Regions from separate parts of the Homo sapiens genome. Here region 2 is linked to region 1. Evidence: promoter capture Hi-C in 16 types of primary human blood cells and fetal thymus (Javierre and others, 2016). All regions are on one chromosome and are shown on one strand. Each heading gives the region's core, a stretch centred on a gene start or on the middle of the fragment in contact. The rest is flanking DNA. Distances are from core to core; before and after follow the strand shown. Region 1 holds the start of NTNG1 (netrin G1). Region 2 overlaps VAV3 (vav guanine nucleotide exchange factor 3).

Evidence for each region. Contacts are between HindIII fragments. The CHiCAGO score rates a contact against its expected background, and 5 or more counts as called.
Region 2: a fragment that was not itself captured here is called in contact with the fragment with the promoter of NTNG1 in region 1 in 1 of 17 cell types (fetal thymus); the score reaches 11.5 in fetal thymus.

The regions. Positions count from the first base shown.
Region 1 is chr1:107,138,555-107,142,893 of GRCh38, forward strand. It overlaps NTNG1 (netrin G1), which reads left to right and starts at 2,485. Exons shown (of 8, transcript NM_001113226.3): 1 at 2,485-2,586. RefSeq lists an enhancer at 2,125-2,656 and silencers at 2,590-2,879, 2,900-3,179. The HindIII fragment of the contact is 6,022 bases long and covers 1-4,185 here.
Region 2 is chr1:107,750,099-107,754,437 of GRCh38, forward strand. It overlaps VAV3 (vav guanine nucleotide exchange factor 3), which reads right to left. Exons shown (of 27, transcript NM_006113.5): 13 at 1,019-1,104. Among named protein-coding and RNA genes, the nearest start is that of MIR7852, 140 kb to the right of the region's middle. The HindIII fragment of the contact is 2,583 bases long and covers 579-3,161 here.

The DNA of each region.
Region 1 (4,339 bases), core at 1,235-3,734:
AGTTCTCTAATCTCTGCATAGATTTATTTTATTTTTACTACAGAAGGGCCTTAAATGACCAGATAAAGCAGAGGATGAGAGTTCAGAAAGGCTTTCTTGGCTTGAGAGAGAAGGGCAAGAGAGAGGAAAGGCTGAGAACTGTCTGTATTTCAGGATCTAGGCCAAGGGGCCAACGAGAAATAAGAAGGCCACTCTTGGTATTGTTTATTATATCCTATTGCAAAGGGCTCCCATAGAAAGAACTGGGATCTAAGGGCCTGTGAAGGAGGATTAGGTGGTGAGTAACATCTCCATATAGTCAGTATGTTTTAAACCTGGAGGAGCATGGCTAGAGACAGGGGGAAGAGCCAGACTTGGCCACTGTCTAAGAACCCTTGGTAGGAGTTTCAGCCCTGCAGGTAACTCTTTTTTGCAATGTCAGCACTACAGGACAAAGGTGGGAAAGAGGAAAGCACATGAATCCCAGATTCCTGCACTCAGAGATTCCGAAGGCGACTTATTGTGGCCTCTTAGGTGTTAGAGGGAAGGCTGGGGGTGCCTGAAATCCCTGCCCACTTCCTGGCTGCCCAGGGCCAAGGAGGGCCTGGTTATAGGCCCAACTCAACAAACTTCTCCCCCATCCATCCTTTTACCACACCACCCCCAGTCATCACAGAAAAATGACCCAATTACTCAGCCTCCTGCCTTAATTGTGGGACACATAGTGACTAAGTGTTCACAATTGCCCATTTCTTCCACCCCCCCCCCACCCGCCACTTTGCCTTGACCAAACATGAGTCAGGCTTCTCTCCAGCAGGTCCCTGGAATTTAGCTTGCCCCCCAAATCTGAGCAAGAACTAAAATGTGAAACATTCACCATTGTTAGCTTATCTTCCAAATTCTTGGACCACAGAGACACATTTCTTGTTCAACCAAGAGGGTCTTGAAGTGAGTTGTTTCCCCCATCCACTTGGCTTTGCCTATTGCTTGCTCCCCCTTATATATATAGAAAAAAAAGGCCGATTTCTGTTTGGTTTTGAGAGGTTTGCAGATTTCTGAGATCAGAGCGTTTTCCCTGTTGCAATAGTCTTTCTTTCTAATGGAAGTCTCCCTATCTTATCTAAATTCGGATTTGTTTCTGTTTGACGTTAATGTGTAGCTAAGAGTGATCCCAGGTGAGTCTGAGCCCGCCTTGGTGGGGAATGAAGCCTGGAGCATCGGAGCATTTGTCTTTCTCTTAGAAAAGGCAAGGAAGCCTGAAATGCGCAGCTCTCCCTTGAACTTCAACTTTTTAAAGGGGAATGAATTTCTAAAGGAGGAGTTTCCAGTCTAGGGCTGTAGGGGCCTCCGGGCAAAGGAAGTGCTTGTTGAAAAACAACATTGTGATCACTTCCAGCGGCGAAGGGTGTGCTTGGGAACGGTTTGGGGAGGGGACAGAAGAGAGAGGGGTGGGATGGACGGCGGCAGAAGTGGGAGGTACACGAGGAGTTACTGGAAACGGCGCTTCTGTGGAGGAGCCGGGGGGGATGGGGAGTAGAGGGAGGGGGCCCTGTTGCCTCAGCGCCCCGAGGTCGTGGAGCGGCAGCAGCTGCAGCCGGAGCAGCACCAGCAACAGCAACAGCGAGCGGGACGGAGTTAGGACCGCTCGGAGCGCACAGGTCTCGAGGTAGTATAAGGTTTGCTATCCTTCCACTTGCTGGCAGTTGCAGAAGAAGATCTGCTTTTTAAGTGAAACGTACATGCCACCCCTCCGAGGGCTGCGGCTTCCCCGGGCTTGCTTCTTTGCCGCTCCTCTTTCCGGCTCTCGCGCTCACTCTTTAATTGGCACTGGCCCCTAAGTTTGCCAGGAGCTCGCTGCCCGCTCGGAGCAGGGTCCCGGCCGGGAGCCGCTGGTGGGGGCGGGGAGTCCGGGAGCCGCAATCCAGAAGCGTCGTGGGCCATGTATATTTCATCAAACGGACTTTGGGTGCGTCGCGTCTCACTGCCATCAGTGCTATGTGCAGTGACATTTCTGACTTGAGTGGAGGAATGCGCGAAGGAAACCCGGGCGAAATTGGTATTAGAGGATCTTCTTGGCGCCAATGCTAATTGTCCTGATTTATGCCCCTTCTGACTAAGCTCAACGTCTTCATCTGAAATAAAATGAAAGCGGTGCCAAGCGGCATAGAACCGCCTGGCCGCTGGTTCTGATCCCCGGGAACCAGAAAATCGTCCTGCGGCTTGAAAAAAAAAAAAAGAGGAAAAAAAAAAGAAATAGAAATAGAAAAAAGAAAAAATATCCCTCAGTAAAAGTTTAAGGCGAGAAGTGTCAGAGGCAGCGGAGCGAGGAGGCGCGGAGGAGAGCCGGCGAGCAGGGGACTGGGCTGGCACGACCTCCGAAGGCTGAGATCTCATTATTAATATCACTATATTTTTGGAGGGAGAGGCACCTTTCTCATCCTCTCTTCCTCTCCGCCCACCCTTACTCCCTCCCCCTCATCTACCTGTCAAAGTCACTGATCTTTTGCATTTCGGAAGAGGACGTCAACGGGAAGGAATTCCCCCTCTGGGTGCGGGCTCCGAGAGGGGGCGACTTGCAGGAGGCTCCCCCCGGGGGCGGAGGCGAAGGTAATTAAGCGGCGGGGAGTGGCGGGCCGGCGCTGGGTTCTCGGTCCTCGGGGTCCTCTCCCGCCGGCGGCCGGGCGCGATCGGAATCCCCGGGCTGCGGCGGTGGCGGCGGCTCGGGTCCTCACGCCCACCCCTCCCGCTCCGCCCGCTCCCGCCTGGGGAGGAGGCTCCGCGGGAGCTGCCGCCCTCCGCCCGTACGCCGCCCGCGGGCTCCGCTGCTGCGGCCGCCGCCCGAGGCGGACCAGGCTGGCTGCGCAGGGCCGCCGCCCCGCGCCGTCGGCTCGGCTCCCGCCCGGCGCAAGGGCAAACGAGCCACACGGTAAGTGCCTGCGGCTCGCCTCTCCTACTGCGACCCGAGCCTCTCGCCCGTGCCCCTCTCCCCCGGGTTTCCCCACCCCCCGCCGCCCCCCGCCCCACCCGCTGCGATGCACAGGCGGGAGGGAAGGCTCCGGGTGGGCGAGGAACTTTGTAAAGCGCCCCGAGGAGGCAGCGCGCGGAGCCCTACGCGCACACACAGCGGCACACGCTCACACCCACACACAAGTCTTCCCGGGGGTGCGCCCCGGGCCGGTGATGCGTCCTCTTGTTGTGTCCGGAGCCCAGGCGTGGGGTCTGAGCCTCCATCCGCCGACTGACAGGGGCCCCGCGCTCTCCCTCTCTCACGCACACCTGGCCACACACATCGCTCAGGCGGCTTGTCGTTATTTTTTCTTTCTTTCGCCAATTATATTTGTTTGGGGAAAAGCAAACAAAAAAAACAAAAAAACACTTGCCCTATTGCCGGCCTTGGGGATCTGGTGGCCACATCGAGAGCTTTTGAAGTCCCTTCTTTTAATCGCCTTTATTGGTGCTAGATTAAAACATTACTATCCCATGTTGTGCAGCTGGGGAGAAAGGGAAATTGAAAGAGGAAGACTTGGTGTAGGGATGCTGTTTGGAATATTCTCTCATATTCTTTACTGGCATCATATTAATCGGTTGATGGATTCGGCTAGGGACACTGAATTGCACTCCTGTATGGATCTGTGGATATCTATATATAATACAAATAATACTGAATATTATTGGGCCTAAAATAACCAATTAAGTGATTCATACAAGGAAAAACTTAGATATAAAAAGAAACTGCGCCCTCTGCTGTTAATTTTAGTACCCTCACCCGGGGACTTTTTTTTTTTTTCCTTCAGAAATCCACTTAAGAGTAGGCTGTCATCTTACAGGGCAAGGGAAGAAAATTCCTAGCGGGGATTTTAAAGCAACTTTACTTGGAAAAGTCGCAGGTTGAGCTCCTATAGTTGCATCAGGTACAGATTTCCAGTGAGTAGACGGTCCTCCTCTCTCACCCATTCTTCTCTTTATACAGGGAATAATGGAGCCACTCCTCATAACAAATTGTCAATCTTTGGAATGGAAAATTCTGAGTAAGATTCAGAACTCCACTAAACATATGGTGAATCTGGCAGTAGAATTGCTCTAGAAATAAGGCCCTGTTTTATGACTGAAAATACTAAAAGTTGTTTTATCTTACAGAAATGAAAAAAAAAAAAACCCAGGAAGATCTTCCATTAAAATCACTTATTCAGATATGCTTAGTAGTTAAGCTTGTTGGAAAGTTTTCCAAAAAATAATTTTTTTTTTTTTCAGGGGAGGCTTTTCTGTTTTGTTTGTCCCTTGAGGAGGATCTCTAGTGAGGGAATTAGCAATTCCACATTTCATTAAGTATTTTGAACTGTGTCACTTTGAATGCCTTACC
Region 2 (4,339 bases), core at 620-3,119, 610 kb after region 1:
AGGAGGAAACTGAGGCTTAGAGAAGTTAGATAATTTGCTCAAGATCACACTGCTAGTGAGGCATGTAACAGGATTCACAAACAGGTCTAATTTTGGAAACTGTGCTTTTACCCTCTATATTGTTCCTCATGATTTAATTGGCCACCTAAAAACCCAAACTGAATGGTATATGAGCCAAGTGTAAACTGAAAACGTTATGGTGAAATTTCCATGTTAATATTTCTTTTTTCTTATTAAGAACAACGTAACTTGGGGGAGAAAATAAACCTTATAACCACATCATCCAATACCAATACTTGTGTATTTTTATAAACTCTCAGTGATTAACACACATTTTTTTTATACACAATGATAATGACACATTCACAGGGCTGTAACACTTGCATCACTTTTAACGTCTATTTCTCCCAGAGAGGTTTAAAGGACCTATGGAGCCAGGGTTATCGAGGAAGAAGCAAGAGCTGATGCTGCCCCCTACTGGCTTTCGCTTCTCCAAAGATTCCAGAAAACAATCATTGTCAACCACAAAAACCTCTGTTTGATGATTACATATATACATAATTAAGGACTCCGGGCCAAGCTTACTAATCTTCAAGAACTACATCTGCAAATTTCCCTCAAGAAAATATTACTACGTGATTCTCACTTAATCTTCTTTCTTAGGGCATTTTTCTATTATTTTTGGTTATTTAAAAATATATTCCAAAAATTCAATTATGTTTTTATGGTAGTTATCTGTTCTTACTTTATCGCTCTTCTCATTTTAATGTATCCTAGCTGATCATCTATACTTGTTACTTCCTTCTTAATAACTTAGACAAACTAATAGATACCAGAACCCAGGTGGGAATACCTAAGATAATCTAGATTTAAAAAATTTAGAAATCATGGGTTGGTCTGTCTCCTTGTATTTCTTCCTTTTTTCCCCCTACTTCACACTGGAAAAATTGTCTTTAAGGTTTTCTCAGTTTTCTGACACTAATTACTTATTTTGAAAATAGTATTCTTCTTTTCTTACCTTTCTTGTTTGGTATGCTTGTCTAGAGTGGTTATTCGAATTTCACCATCTCCCTGAGGTCGTCCAAAAAGCAAAACTGGTTGGTTCTAAAATATAAAATGCACATGTCAGAGTTTTTCATAATCACATGAAAATAAAAACAAATATTAGTAGAGATATTTACTCAAGACAACTACCTTATTACATTAAAATGTTACCATTTTTTATACTTTTAAAGCATACTTACTCTAAAAAGCTCAGGTCTACATGACAAATAAGTCTGTCCTCTGTAATCCCAGGGGGTATGTCAAGGACATCAATTGATTTTAATTAGTATATATTCTTAAAGGGGAAATTAGCTATGAAAAGAAAGACTCAACCGGAAGGGTCCAAATTACGAGACGGTTCGGCAATTAATATTTTTTGAGCATCTACTACGTGCCAACCACCATAACAGGTGTACGGCAAAATGATACAGACACTGCCCTCATGAAGCACACTGCGCAGTGGAGGAACAAATATTCACAGAAGCATGCAATTACAAACGCACAATTGCCATGAAGGAGTACAGAAAGGGGCGGGGGGGCGCGCGCTAATTTGGTCTATAAAGTCCAGGCTGGCTTTCTTGAGCTAGGACCTCAAGGACGAAAAGCTCTGAGTTAATTATTTAAAATAATGAGCTATTTTCCCAGAGGCTGATAACTAAATTATTTTTAAGTGTTTATGAACACTTACTGTACACGCTAGAGGAAAAAAGAATTGACTGAAAATCACTAACGTTCAGAAATTCCATTTTAATAAAGGGCAGAGATGTGTGATTAACACTATAAATATAAAAATAAATGTATCTTATCAAAATCCCAGTGATGTTTTCTGCACAAATAGAAAATTCCATTCTAAAATTCTTATGGAATCTCAAGGGATTCTGAATAGTCAAAACAATCTTGAAAAGGAACAAAGCTGGAAGTCTCATACTTACTGACTTGTTTCCAAAACTTATTGCAAAGCCACAATAATCAAAATCATGCGGCACTGGCATACAAACAGGTATATAGACCAACAGAATAGTAGAGAGCCCAGAAATAAGTCCTCACATATATGGTCAAATGATTTCCAACAAGGTTAACACCATTAAATAGGGAAAGAATAGCCTTTTCAACAAATGGTGCTGGGAAAACTGGATATCCACATGTAAAAGAATAAAGGTAGACCCTTCATTACCTTACACCATAAATAAAGAATAACTAAAAATGTTTCAAATACCCAAACATAACAGTTAAAACTATAAAACTTTTACAAGAAAATGGGGAAAAACTTTATGACAATAGATTCAGCAATTATTTCTTCGAGATTGATAAATGGGACTTTGTCAAAATTAAAAACTTTTGTGCCTCACAGACAATATCAACAGAGTGAAAAGCCAACAGACACAAGAAAAGTATTTGCAAACCATATGTCTTATAAGGGATTGATATCTGGGATACAAATAAAGAGCTTCTACAACACAAAGACAAAAAACAACTTGATTCAAAAATGGGCAAAGCATTTGAATAGGCATTTTTCCAAAGAGAATATACAAATGGCCAGCAAACACACAAAGACAATATTCAACATCATTAGTCATTAAGAAAATGCAAATCAAACCCACGATGAGATATTGCTTTAAAACCATTAAGATGGCTGTTACCCAAACAAACCGAATAGTGAGTGTTGGTAAGGATGTGGAAAAACTGAAACCCTTGTGCATTGGTAGTAGGAAAGTTAAGTGGGGCAGCTGCTGTGGAAAATGGTATAGCAATTCTTCAATAAATTAACATAATGACCATACAACCCAGAATTCCACTTCCAAGTATATAACTAAAAGAAGTGAAAGCAGGCACTTGAATAGATATTGGTACACCTGTGACAATAATAATATAACAGTATTATTCACAATAGCTGAAAGAAGGAAGCAACCCAAATGTTCATCAATGAAAAACAGTGAGGTATTTATATAAAATGATGTATTATTCAGCTTTAAACAAATGGAAATCAAAAAAATAAAATGTTGACACATGACTACTACAAGGATGAACTTTGAAGACATTATGCTAAGTAAAAAAAGCCAGTCATGAAATGGCAAATATTGTATGATTTCACTTATATAAGGTGCCCAGAGTAGTTAAGCTTACAGAGATAGAAAGTAGATTGGTAGTTTCCAGGGGCCAGGGAAAGAGAAGAATGGGAAGTTCATGTTTAATGAGTACAGAGTTTCAGTTTTGCAAGATGAAGTTTTGGAGACGGTCACACAACATCATGAATGCACTTCTAATTTGAAAATAATTAGAATGGCAAATTAATGCTATATATATTTATAGCATTAATGTGTGTGTGTATGTATGTGTGTGTGTATATATATACACACATATATATACACACATATATATATATACGTATATATATATATATATATATACACACACACACTTTTTTTTTTGAGACAGAGTCAGAGTCTCGCTCTGTTGCCTAGGCTGCAGTGCAGTGGCATGATCTCGGTTCACTGCAGCCTCCGCCTCCTGGGTTCAAGCAATTCTCCTGCCTCAGCCTCCCCAGTAGCTGGGACTACAGGCACGTGCCACCATGCCTGGCTAGTTTTTGTATTTTTAGTAGACACGGGGTTTCACCATGTTGGTCAGTCTGGTCTTAAACTCCTGACCTCAGGTGATCTGCCCGCCTCGGCCTCCCAAAGTGCTGGGATTACATGTGTGAGCCACCACACCCGGCCAATGCTATATATATTTTACCACAATTTTTTAAAGGCTACACAGCTGTCCAAGAAATATGCTATGGAATTCTAAAGAGGAAAAATAATAGGAGATTAGGAAAAGGGATTTATTTTAGATGCACCTTGAATAAATTTGATAGGGAATAGGAAAAAAACATTCTAGGCTCTGAGATTACAATTGAAGGCAGAACTGTAGAAACGTATGTCAAATTGGAGACCTTGTAATACAGCAAAATATCCACAATGTAAAGTTTACGGGCAGTTATTAGCTGGAGGGGTTCAGGAAAATAGCTTAAGTCCAGATCACTGAGGACCTTAAATATCATGCCAAGGAATATTGACTGAATCTTGAAGACAACAACAAAAAAATCTTGACAAATTTGAGAAAGAGAGTAAATTGAGAAATCCACATTTTGGAAATGCAACTATATGAAGAGATGATGAGAGGCTACTGTGACTGGAAAACTGGCAGATGATGGTGTCCTGAAATGGGTATGTGGCTGCATGTGTGAAAAGAAAGAGACAGGTTCACAATGTTTCAGAGAAAGCAGCGATGAAACTGCTCTACCAAAAATGTA